Regions from separate parts of the Homo sapiens genome. Here region 1 is linked to region 2. Evidence: promoter capture Hi-C in human tissues and cell types (Jung and others, 2019). All regions are on one chromosome and are shown on one strand. Each heading gives the region's core, a stretch centred on a gene start or on the middle of the fragment in contact. The rest is flanking DNA. Distances are from core to core; before and after follow the strand shown. Region 1 overlaps JPT2 (Jupiter microtubule associated homolog 2). Region 2 holds the start of TPSD1 (tryptase delta 1).

The links. Contacts are between HindIII fragments. The study calls those that stand out against the background at their distance.
Region 1: a contact is called between a fragment that was not itself captured here and the fragment with the promoter of TPSD1 in region 2, in 3 of the 25 tissues and cell types used here (H1 embryonic stem cells, lymphoblastoid cells and spleen).

The regions. Positions count from the first base shown.
Region 1 is chr16:1,697,922-1,702,432 of GRCh38, forward strand. JPT2 (Jupiter microtubule associated homolog 2) reads left to right here. Exons shown (of 5, transcript NM_144570.3): 5 at 890-4,165. The coding sequence ends at 1,077. Among named protein-coding and RNA genes, the nearest start is that of MAPK8IP3, 6.0 kb to the right of the region's middle. The HindIII fragment of the contact is 5,896 bases long and covers 1-4,511 here.
Region 2 is chr16:1,253,939-1,258,298 of GRCh38, forward strand. It overlaps TPSD1 (tryptase delta 1), which reads left to right and starts at 2,131. Exons shown (of 5, transcript NM_012217.3): 1 at 2,131-2,424; 2 at 2,578-2,749; 3 at 2,859-3,124; 4 at 4,121-4,284. The coding sequence starts at 2,343. The HindIII fragment of the contact is 12,300 bases long and covers 1-4,360 here.

The DNA of each region.
Region 1 (4,511 bases), core at 1,245-3,744, 440 kb after region 2:
GTCTCTCCTCTGGGAATGAAAAGGAGTCTTTCTTTGCACCTTCTGGGCCACCTGATTAAAACGAGCTCAGGTGTATCCACTGCAAGAGGATTCAGCATTTGAAGAAGGCTAGGGTGAAACCCTGGGACTTGGTTGTCTTGCTCATCAGCCTAGGCCCAGGGCCATGGGGTCGTCTCCTAGAAGCTCATCTGTGTAGTGATGGGCAGGGATCCCAAACCTTCAGTGAACTCATGACCAAGCATAGAGCTGGCAGAACTAATCGAGAAGAGAGGGGCACAAGAGAGGGATGGAGGATGGGGAGGCGGGTGTCTCCATGGTGAGTCACCCCGGGGGAGTGAGCCACTGCTCAGGTTGAGCGGCAGACTTCGACTCTCCCCACGGCTCTTTAGCCTGACCATGGGCATCGGTTTCTGCCTTTGGGTCTCCATTTCCCTTAACTAATGACCAAGATTTGTGGGATTTCATTCACCTTTGAAAAGCCCAGGGTAACAGCAACAGAGCCTGCCTTTGCCTTGCTAAGCCCTCACCTAGGATGCATTCCCTCGCCGCCTCATGGTCACTCTCAGGGGCTTGCTTTCTATACTTGAGATGGAAGAAATGGGAGTGGTGTCTAACAAGCAATATAAAGAAACAATTCACTTAGGAAGAAATCAAGGAGTATTTACAGTAGCAAGCCCCAACTTTATGCCCATTTCAAAACTGCATCTGCTAATTACAGTGAGTTGTTTTGGTACCAGATGAAAAGCCTGTCTATATTGTCTTCTCTTTCCCAGTTACAGCATGAATTTCTTGCAGGTTGCTCTATGACACACTTTTTATTTCCACAGCCTGCCTGTCAGGGTCATGGGTTGCCTCTAATGGGATGTTGTTCTAACTTTGTGTCCCACAGCTGCAAGGAGCATCCCGGCTGGAGCAGAGCCAGGTGAGAAAGGCAGCGCCAGAAAAGCAGGCCCCGCCAAGGAGCAGGAGCCCATGCCCACAGTCGACAGCCATGAGCCCCGGCTGGGGCCGCGGCCTCGCTCTCACAACAAGGTCCTGAACCCACCGGGAGGCAAATCCAGCATCTCCTTCTACTAAGAGAAGCCACTGCTCCACCCGGAGCCAGACCAGAAACTCAAGAGATAGGGTAGCCATGTTTTCATTTCCTTTTGCCCAAATGAGCGGGGTGGGAAGAGGGTTAGTCTTATGTGAGCCTGGCTGCTCAGCGTCTCCTGGCCGTCATGACAGCTGCTTGGAGACCCGTGCCTTCCAGATGGCTGGGAGATGCCTCTGTGGGGATGAAATGGGGCACCCCTGGCCATCACTCATGTGTAGTCCAGGTTTGAGAGGAACTGGAAGGGGGGTGAGGGTGGGGAGGTGGGGCAGGGCATGGTCCTTGGATCAACAGCCCGCCAGCTGATTGGATGTCTAGGAATGACTGAAAGAAACCAAAACAGCCTGTCCACTGCTGCTGTGGGATGGAGGAGGCGTAAGCAGAAACACTAACAGTATATTGACCTCTTAGCAGAACCGCTTCCATTCTGGAGATCACGGCTGCTAAATCCAGCATCCCCACTTCATTTTACCCCCAGCATATTGTTCTGTAGTCTTTTCTTGAAACATCTTGATTGCTTTTCCTCGGCAGCTTTCAAAAAACCAAATAATAATAGTTATCCGTCTTCTACTTCATGGAAGATTGTTTTGGTGCCCTGACCCTCTGAAGTGCCCAGTTCCTGCCATCTGAAACCTCGGCCTGATCTGATCTCATGTTGGAATCTGCCTGTCTTTCACACAGGGCTGGTCTTGGTCCTTTACATGCCAGTTTTGCTTGTGAATTCTTGCTTTTTTCCTCTCATCAGCCTTAAGTTTAGGCGTTTGTTGTTCTCCAGTGATGTAGACAGTTCCCTTCACAAGTCACAGTTCTTCCCATAAATGAGGCCCGCTGACCTCTGCGGGACTTTAAAAATCTATTCAGATATTTCCGAGTAAGTGGCTTGTTTAAATTCTTCCTGTGTCTTTCTTTATTCCTTAATTGGTTGGTGGAAAGAAGAGATGCTTGGGAACCTTGGGTTCTTAGGTTTGGATTCTTTAATAATATCTAAAAAGCTAAATTTTAAATACCAGCTTTACATAAATGATTGTTGACTCTGGTCTGTTTCTGACACCTTTCCAGAAAAAAGTCAATTGTTCAGGTACACCAAAGAGGAAGAAGAGCTGTGGAGGCCACCCTCTACAAAGCTTTATAGAACTTCTGGATCTAACTCACAAACAAGCTTCCAGAAGAGACTAGAGACCTTAGGCCAGGAGATGAAGGAGTTCAGTAGCAAAGTCACACCTGTCCAATTCCCTGAGCTTTGCTCACTCAGCTAATGGGATGGCAAAGGTGGTGGTGCTTTCATCTTCAGGCAGAAGCCTCTGCCCATCCCCCTCAAGGGCTGCAGGCCCAGTTCTCATGCTGCCCTTGGGTGGGCATCTGTTAACAGAGGAGAACGTCTGGGTGGCGGCAGCAGCTTTGCTCTGAGTGCCTACAAAGCTAATGCTTGGTGCTAGAAACATCATCATTATTAAACTTCAGAAAAGCAGCAGCCATGTTCAGTCAGGCTCATGCTGCCTCACTGCTTAAGTGCCTGCAGGAGCCGCCTGCCAAGCTCCCCTTCCTACACCTGGCACACTGGGGTCTGCACAAGGCTTTGTCAACCAAAGACAGCTTCCCCCTTTTGATTGCCTGTAGACTTTGGAGCCAAGAAACACTCTGTGTGACTCTACACACACTTCAGGTGGTTTGTGCTTCAAAGTCATTGATGCAACTTGAAAGGAAACAGTTTAATGGTGGAAATGAACTACCATTTATAACTTCTGTTTTTTTATTGAGAAAATGATTCACGAATTCCAAATCAGATTGCCAGGAAGAAATAGGACGTGACGGTACTGGGCCCTGTGATTCTCCCAGCCCTTGCAGTCCGCTAGGTGAGAGGAAAAGCTCTTTACTTCCGCCCCTGGCAGGGACTTCTGGGTTATGGGAGAAACCAGAGATGGGAATGAGGAAAATATGAACTACAGCAGAAGCCCCTGGGCAGCTGTGATGGAGCCCCTGACATTACTCTTCTTGCATCTGTCCTGCCTTCTTTCCCTCTGCGAGGCAGTGGGGTGGGATTCAGAGTGCTTAGTCTGCTCACTGGGAGAAGAAGAGTTCCTGCGCATGCAAGCCCTGCTGTGTGGCTGTCGTTTACATTTGGGAGGTGTCCTGTATGTCTGTACGTTGGGGACTGCCTGTATTTGGAAGATTTAAAAACCTAGCATCCTGTTCTCACCCTCTAAGCTGCATTGAGAAATGACTCGTCTCTGTATTTGTATTAAGCCTTAACACTTTTCTTAAGTGCATTCGGTGCCAACATTTTTTAGAGCTGTACCAAAACAAAAAGCCTGTACTCACATCACAATGTCATTTTGATAGGAGCGTTTTGTTATTTTTACAAGGCAGAATGGGGTGTAACAGTTGAATTAAACTTAGCAATCACGTGCTCAGAGCTTTTGCCTGTCAGTTGTGTGTGTCCCTTATAGTCCCTTCCCCCACAGCTCTTGCTGAAAGAGTTTGCCTTGTTTTGTTTTGTTGTTTTGTATTTAGCCAGAGGATGCCAAAATTAGTCTTCTCAAAGCTTTGAGTAGAGTAAGTGTGGGAATAAGCCAGTTTTTTTTTTTCTGTTTCTGTAACTTAAATGAACGGGTTTTTTTCCCTTGTATGCCACTTGTCCTAACATGTCCTTAAGGTGTTTAACCTGCCTCTGACCTGGCTTGCAATGCATAGGTGAGGAGAAGCAGAGAGCTTGTCATATGCAAGTCCTGTCAAGAAAACAGGTGGGCATGGTGGCTCAGGTCTGTAGTCTTTGGGTCTTTGGGAGGCCAGGGTGGGAGGATCACTTGAGCTCAGGAGTTTGAGACCAGCCTAGACAACATACTACGACCCTGTCTATACAAAAAAAAACTTCTCTAAATTAGCCGGATGTGGTGGTGCATGCCTGTAGTCCCAGCTACTCGGGAGGCTGAGTGAGGCAGGAGGATCACTTGAGACCAGGAGGTTGTGGCTGTAGTGAGTGATGATCATGCCACTGCACTTCAGCCTGGACCACAGAGCAAGACCCTGTGTAAAAAAATAAAATAAAAAACAGATTGGATGTCTTTCTTCTGATGTATTAGCTATTTTCATATGTTTTCTAACATACTTAATATCCTTACAGGCATTATGTGGATTCAGGGTAAACTTCTCAGACTGTGAGCCTGAGAGTTCCTCTCTAGGAGGCTCCACACCATTCTGCCTGCTAGATCGGGGCCAGATGAGATGAAAGTCAACGCTTGAGAAAGAAAACCAACATGCATTAACTGAAACACCGTCTTCACTTGTTCATCCACAGGGTATAGAGCGAGTTCCAAGAACCAGGCTAGGAAATGACACGCTAAGTTTCCTATTTCTAGCAGCTGCCAAGGCCACCAGCAAGCATGGGAACCTCTGGGAGTCACAGCTCCTCCGTCTCCAG
Region 2 (4,360 bases), core at 881-3,380:
AGCCCAGCAAGCTCCTGGGGCTGAGTTTCCCATCGCTGCCCTGAGTCTGGGCGCGGCCACTGTCGTCTCACCCGACTCCCCACCCTTCTCTCGGGGACACTGCCCCACGTGGCCTCTTGCCCAGTGTCTGTCAATGGCCTGGGACCCCAGCCCTGCAGCAGCCCCAGGGGAGCGGCCGGGGATCGGGGCGGGGTGCCCAGGACGCGCCCTGATTGGCCCAGTGTTAGCCAATCAAGGCTCTCGCATCCCCATGGTGCTGATTGGTCCGCCTCCCAGGCCTGACCCAATCGGAGCATTCCTAGGAGGAGCGGCCCCAGAGCCCCTGACTCGGGGGTCCCAGAGCCCTCTGCACACCACAGCCCCGGTGTCCCCGTGTGTCCCTGGGTTCTCCCAGCCCTGGTGTCCCCTGAGTCTCTTCTTCACCGTCAGCCCTGGTGTCTCCCGTGTCCCTGCCACACCCTCATCCCTGGTGTCCCCCGTCACCCCATCCCCTCACCTCCTGGGCTCCTGAAGGTCCCATCTTGTGGGCCTCATTCATGGAACCAGGACGGGGCAGGTGGAGGCCTCTGGGGAGTTTGTCCAGAGAATGGAGGAGAAGCAGGGTCATGAGCAGGAGCGGTCTGGGCCACCCCTGCCTGTCCCCCGGGGGGTGCAGCCCGGAAGGAGTCCAGATGGATATGGCCCCGCAGTGCAGAGTCAGCCTCAAACCAGGCTGGTCCCAGGCAGGGTGGGGGCAGGAGGAGCCCCGGAGTGGCCCTGTGTTGGGGGTCGGGGGGCAGGCAGGGGGTCCTGGGGCTCAGAAGCAGAGGAGGTGGGCTGGAGGCCCCAGTGACCAACAGGCCCAGGTGAGTCAGGAGGTGGGGTGGACGGAGCTGCAGGGACAGTGTCAGCGCTGAATGGGATGGAGAGCACAGGGAGCTGGGGCCGGGGGTGAGACCAAGGGGAGCTGGGCTGGGGCTGGGGGTGAGTCCATGGGGAGCTGGGGCCGGGGGCTGGGACTAGTCCATGGGGAGCTGGGCTGGGGCTGGGGGTGAGACCATGGGGAGCTGGGCTGGGGCTGGGACTAGTCCATGGGGAGCTGGGCTGGGGCTGGGACTAGTTCATGGGGAGCTGGGCTGGGGCTGGGGGTGAGTCCATGGGGAGCTGGGCTGGGGCTGGGGGTGAGTCCATGGGGAGCTGGACTGGGGCTGTGGGTGAGTCCATGGGGAGCTGGGGCTGGGGCTGGGACTACTCCATGGGGAGCTGGGGCTGGGGCTGGGACTAGTCCATGGGGAGCTGGGCTGGGGCTGTGGGTGAGTCCATGGGGAGCTGGGCTGGGGCTGGGGGTGAGTCCATGGGGAGCTGGGCTGGGTCTCCTGGGGTTGCACCTGCACTCCTGTCTGCCCTTCCCTCTGCGGATGAAGCTCAGATCCCATGATAAGAAGGCACCTGCAGACCAGGGGACCTGCACGGACAGCCCCAGAGGTGGACATTGAGGAATCGTTGGAGGACTTGGGTCTCATACGGGAGGTGGGGAGCAGGGCCCCTTCCTGGCTGAGGACACTTGGTGCTGTCCCCTCTCAAGGCTGTTTCCCCATCTGACAAAGGGGTCTCATGTGAGCCCCCAACCAAGTGAGTCGAGGAGGGCTGGCCCCACCCCCGTGGATTCGGAGTCCGTAGGAGGGGTGTCACCCGTCATGTCCCCACCCCGTGGGCACCTTCCCGTCTCTTGGAGGGTGGCCCATGGACATGAGTTCCTCACCCCGTGTCCCTCTTGGGGAAACAGGTTTCAGGAGCGACGGGTCTTGTAGCCTGGGGCAGCCAGGCCACCTGGGTGCAGCTATGCCTGAAGGCCTCCTGGCACCGAGACAGGGGCAGGAGCAGATCCCACCAGCGGGAAGGTGGTGGGTTCCAGTGCTGGGATCCACCAGCTGACAGGTGGAGCTGCGAGCCTCCAGTGCTCAGCCCTCGGCGGGGCCTGCCTGGCAGCCCCACACACAGAGGGCATCGGGGTGGCGGGGGCATGTGTTACACGGGGGCCCTGGGTCTGAGTCATCCACTTCCTCCGAGTCTGGATGGGAGGACCCAGCGCCCCTCCTCCGCCCCCTCCTGATCTGGAAGCATAAATGGGGAGGGGAGAGCCCGCTGGGTAGAAGGAACAGGGAGTGGCCAGGGTAAGTCCCTACTCTCAGAGACCCTGACATCAGCGTCACCTGGAGCAGAGTGGCCCAGCCTCAGACTCAGAGCACCAAGACCCAGGCCCGCAGGCCTGGACCCACCCCGGTCCCCCCGTCCCAGCTCCATTCTTCACCCCACAATCTGTAGCCCCCAGCCCTGCCCTGTGAGGCCCGGCCAGGCCCACGATGCTCCTCCTTGCTCCCCAGATGCTGAGCCTGCTGCTGCTGGCGCTGCCCGTCCTGGCGAGCCCGGCCTACGTGGCCCCTGGTGAGTCCCAGCCGGGGTCCACCCTGCCCCTCACCACATTCCACAGATCAGGGCCTGGGTGGGTTCTGGGGAGGCCGGGCTGGCCCCCACACAGGGAAGGGCTGGTCCCAGGCGTGGGGCGGCTTCTTGGTCCTGACCTGGCACCTGCCCCAGCCCCAGGCCAGGCCCTGCAGCAAACGGGCATTGTTGGGGGGCAGGAGGCCCCCAGGAGCAAGTGGCCCTGGCAGGTGAGCCTGAGAGTCCGCGGCCCATACTGGATGCACTTCTGCGGGGGCTCCCTCATCCACCCCCAGTGGGTGCTAACCGCGGCGCACTGCGTGGAACCGTGAGTCTCCTGGGGCCTGGAGGGGTGGGCAAGGGCTGGATGTGAGCCCTGGCTCCCGGGTGCTCCTGGGGGCTGCCCAGGGCCCTGAGTGGGATCCTCCGCTGCCCAGGGACATCAAGGATCTGGCCGCCCTCAGGGTGCAACTGCGGGAGCAGCACCTCTACTACCAGGACCAGCTGCTGCCGGTCAGCAGGATCATCGTGCACCCACAGTTCTACATCATCCAGACCGGGGCGGACATCGCCCTGCTGGAGCTGGAGGAGCCCGTGAACATCTCCAGCCACATCCACACGGTCACGCTGCCCCCTGCCTCGGAGACCTTCCCCCCGGGGATGCCGTGCTGGGTCACTGGCTGGGGCGACGTGGACAATAATGGTGGGTGTTGGGGACAGCGGGAGGCCGGGCCAGGTGGGCACCAAGTCACAGCCACAGGCCAGTCCGTGGGGTGACAGGGTCCCTCAGGGCGGCTCAGGGAGGGGGACTGTGGAGGCCAGGATGGATGGAGCAGGCGGTGGCGAGAGGCAGCAGGTGCCCTGAGCAGAGACGGTGAGTCCAAAGGGCCTGGGCGTCCCCCACCCCAGGGGTTTGGAGAGTCCCTTAGCACCTCCGTGCCTCGGTTTCCCCTTGCCTGAAAGGGTGCATCAAAAGTTTGTACGTCACGGACTTGCTATGTGGAGAGAGAAATCACACGGGGGTCTTGCTGGAAGGAGAGAGACCGGTGCTGGGATGAGACCTGCCTGCCCTCCATCCCTGTGCTACAGACAAGGCAGGGGCCTGGGAATCGGGGTCGTGGCAGTGCTGTGGGGGGCTGGACGAAGCTCACTGTGGCCCTCCACGAGGCACATTTTCACTTCTAGAAGGTCTTGTCCCCATTTTATCCACAATTCAGAGCAAAGCTTTGGGGTACAGCCTGAGCGGCAACCCTGGGCTGTGACCTCTGGGTCACTCAGAAGGGGCCTGAGCCACTGTCCCGCTATTCCGCCCCACACAGCGGGGAAGCTGAGCCCAGCGCCCTGTGTTCCCCTCGGCTAGGGCCAACCGTGGACCATGGGCCTAGCCCAGACGAAAGTCAGCTGAGCCCAGGGGGAGACACGGGTCGGGCTCTGCACCCCCGTGCCATGGAGCCCAGCTTGGCAACCTCCAGGGCCCTCCCCTCCCTTCCCCAGATGGGGCTTAAATGAGGCCAGGGACCCAGGACCAGCCTCAGCGGAGGGGCCTGGACTGCATTCACCGCCCCTTCCCCGGGGCTGCAGGCACAGAACAGCACTGGGCCCATGGTGCCATCTCCCCTGCCCGTGACTCTGCCACCAAGTCCACGAAGCAGCACCCAGCCGGCCCCAGACCCGGCTCCACGCCCCCCTCCGCCCCCAGTGCACCTGCCGCCGCCATACCCGCTGAAGGAGGTGGAAGTCCCCGTAGTGGAAAACCACCTTTGCAACGCGGAATATCACACCGGCCTCCATACGGGCCACAGCTTTCAAATCGTCCGCGATGACATGCTGTGTGCGGGGAGCGAAAATCACGACTCCTGCCAGGTGGGCCCTCGCGTCCCCCACCCCAATCCCCGGAGCCTGGCCAGCGAGCGCATCCCTCATCCTGACCCCCGAAGCC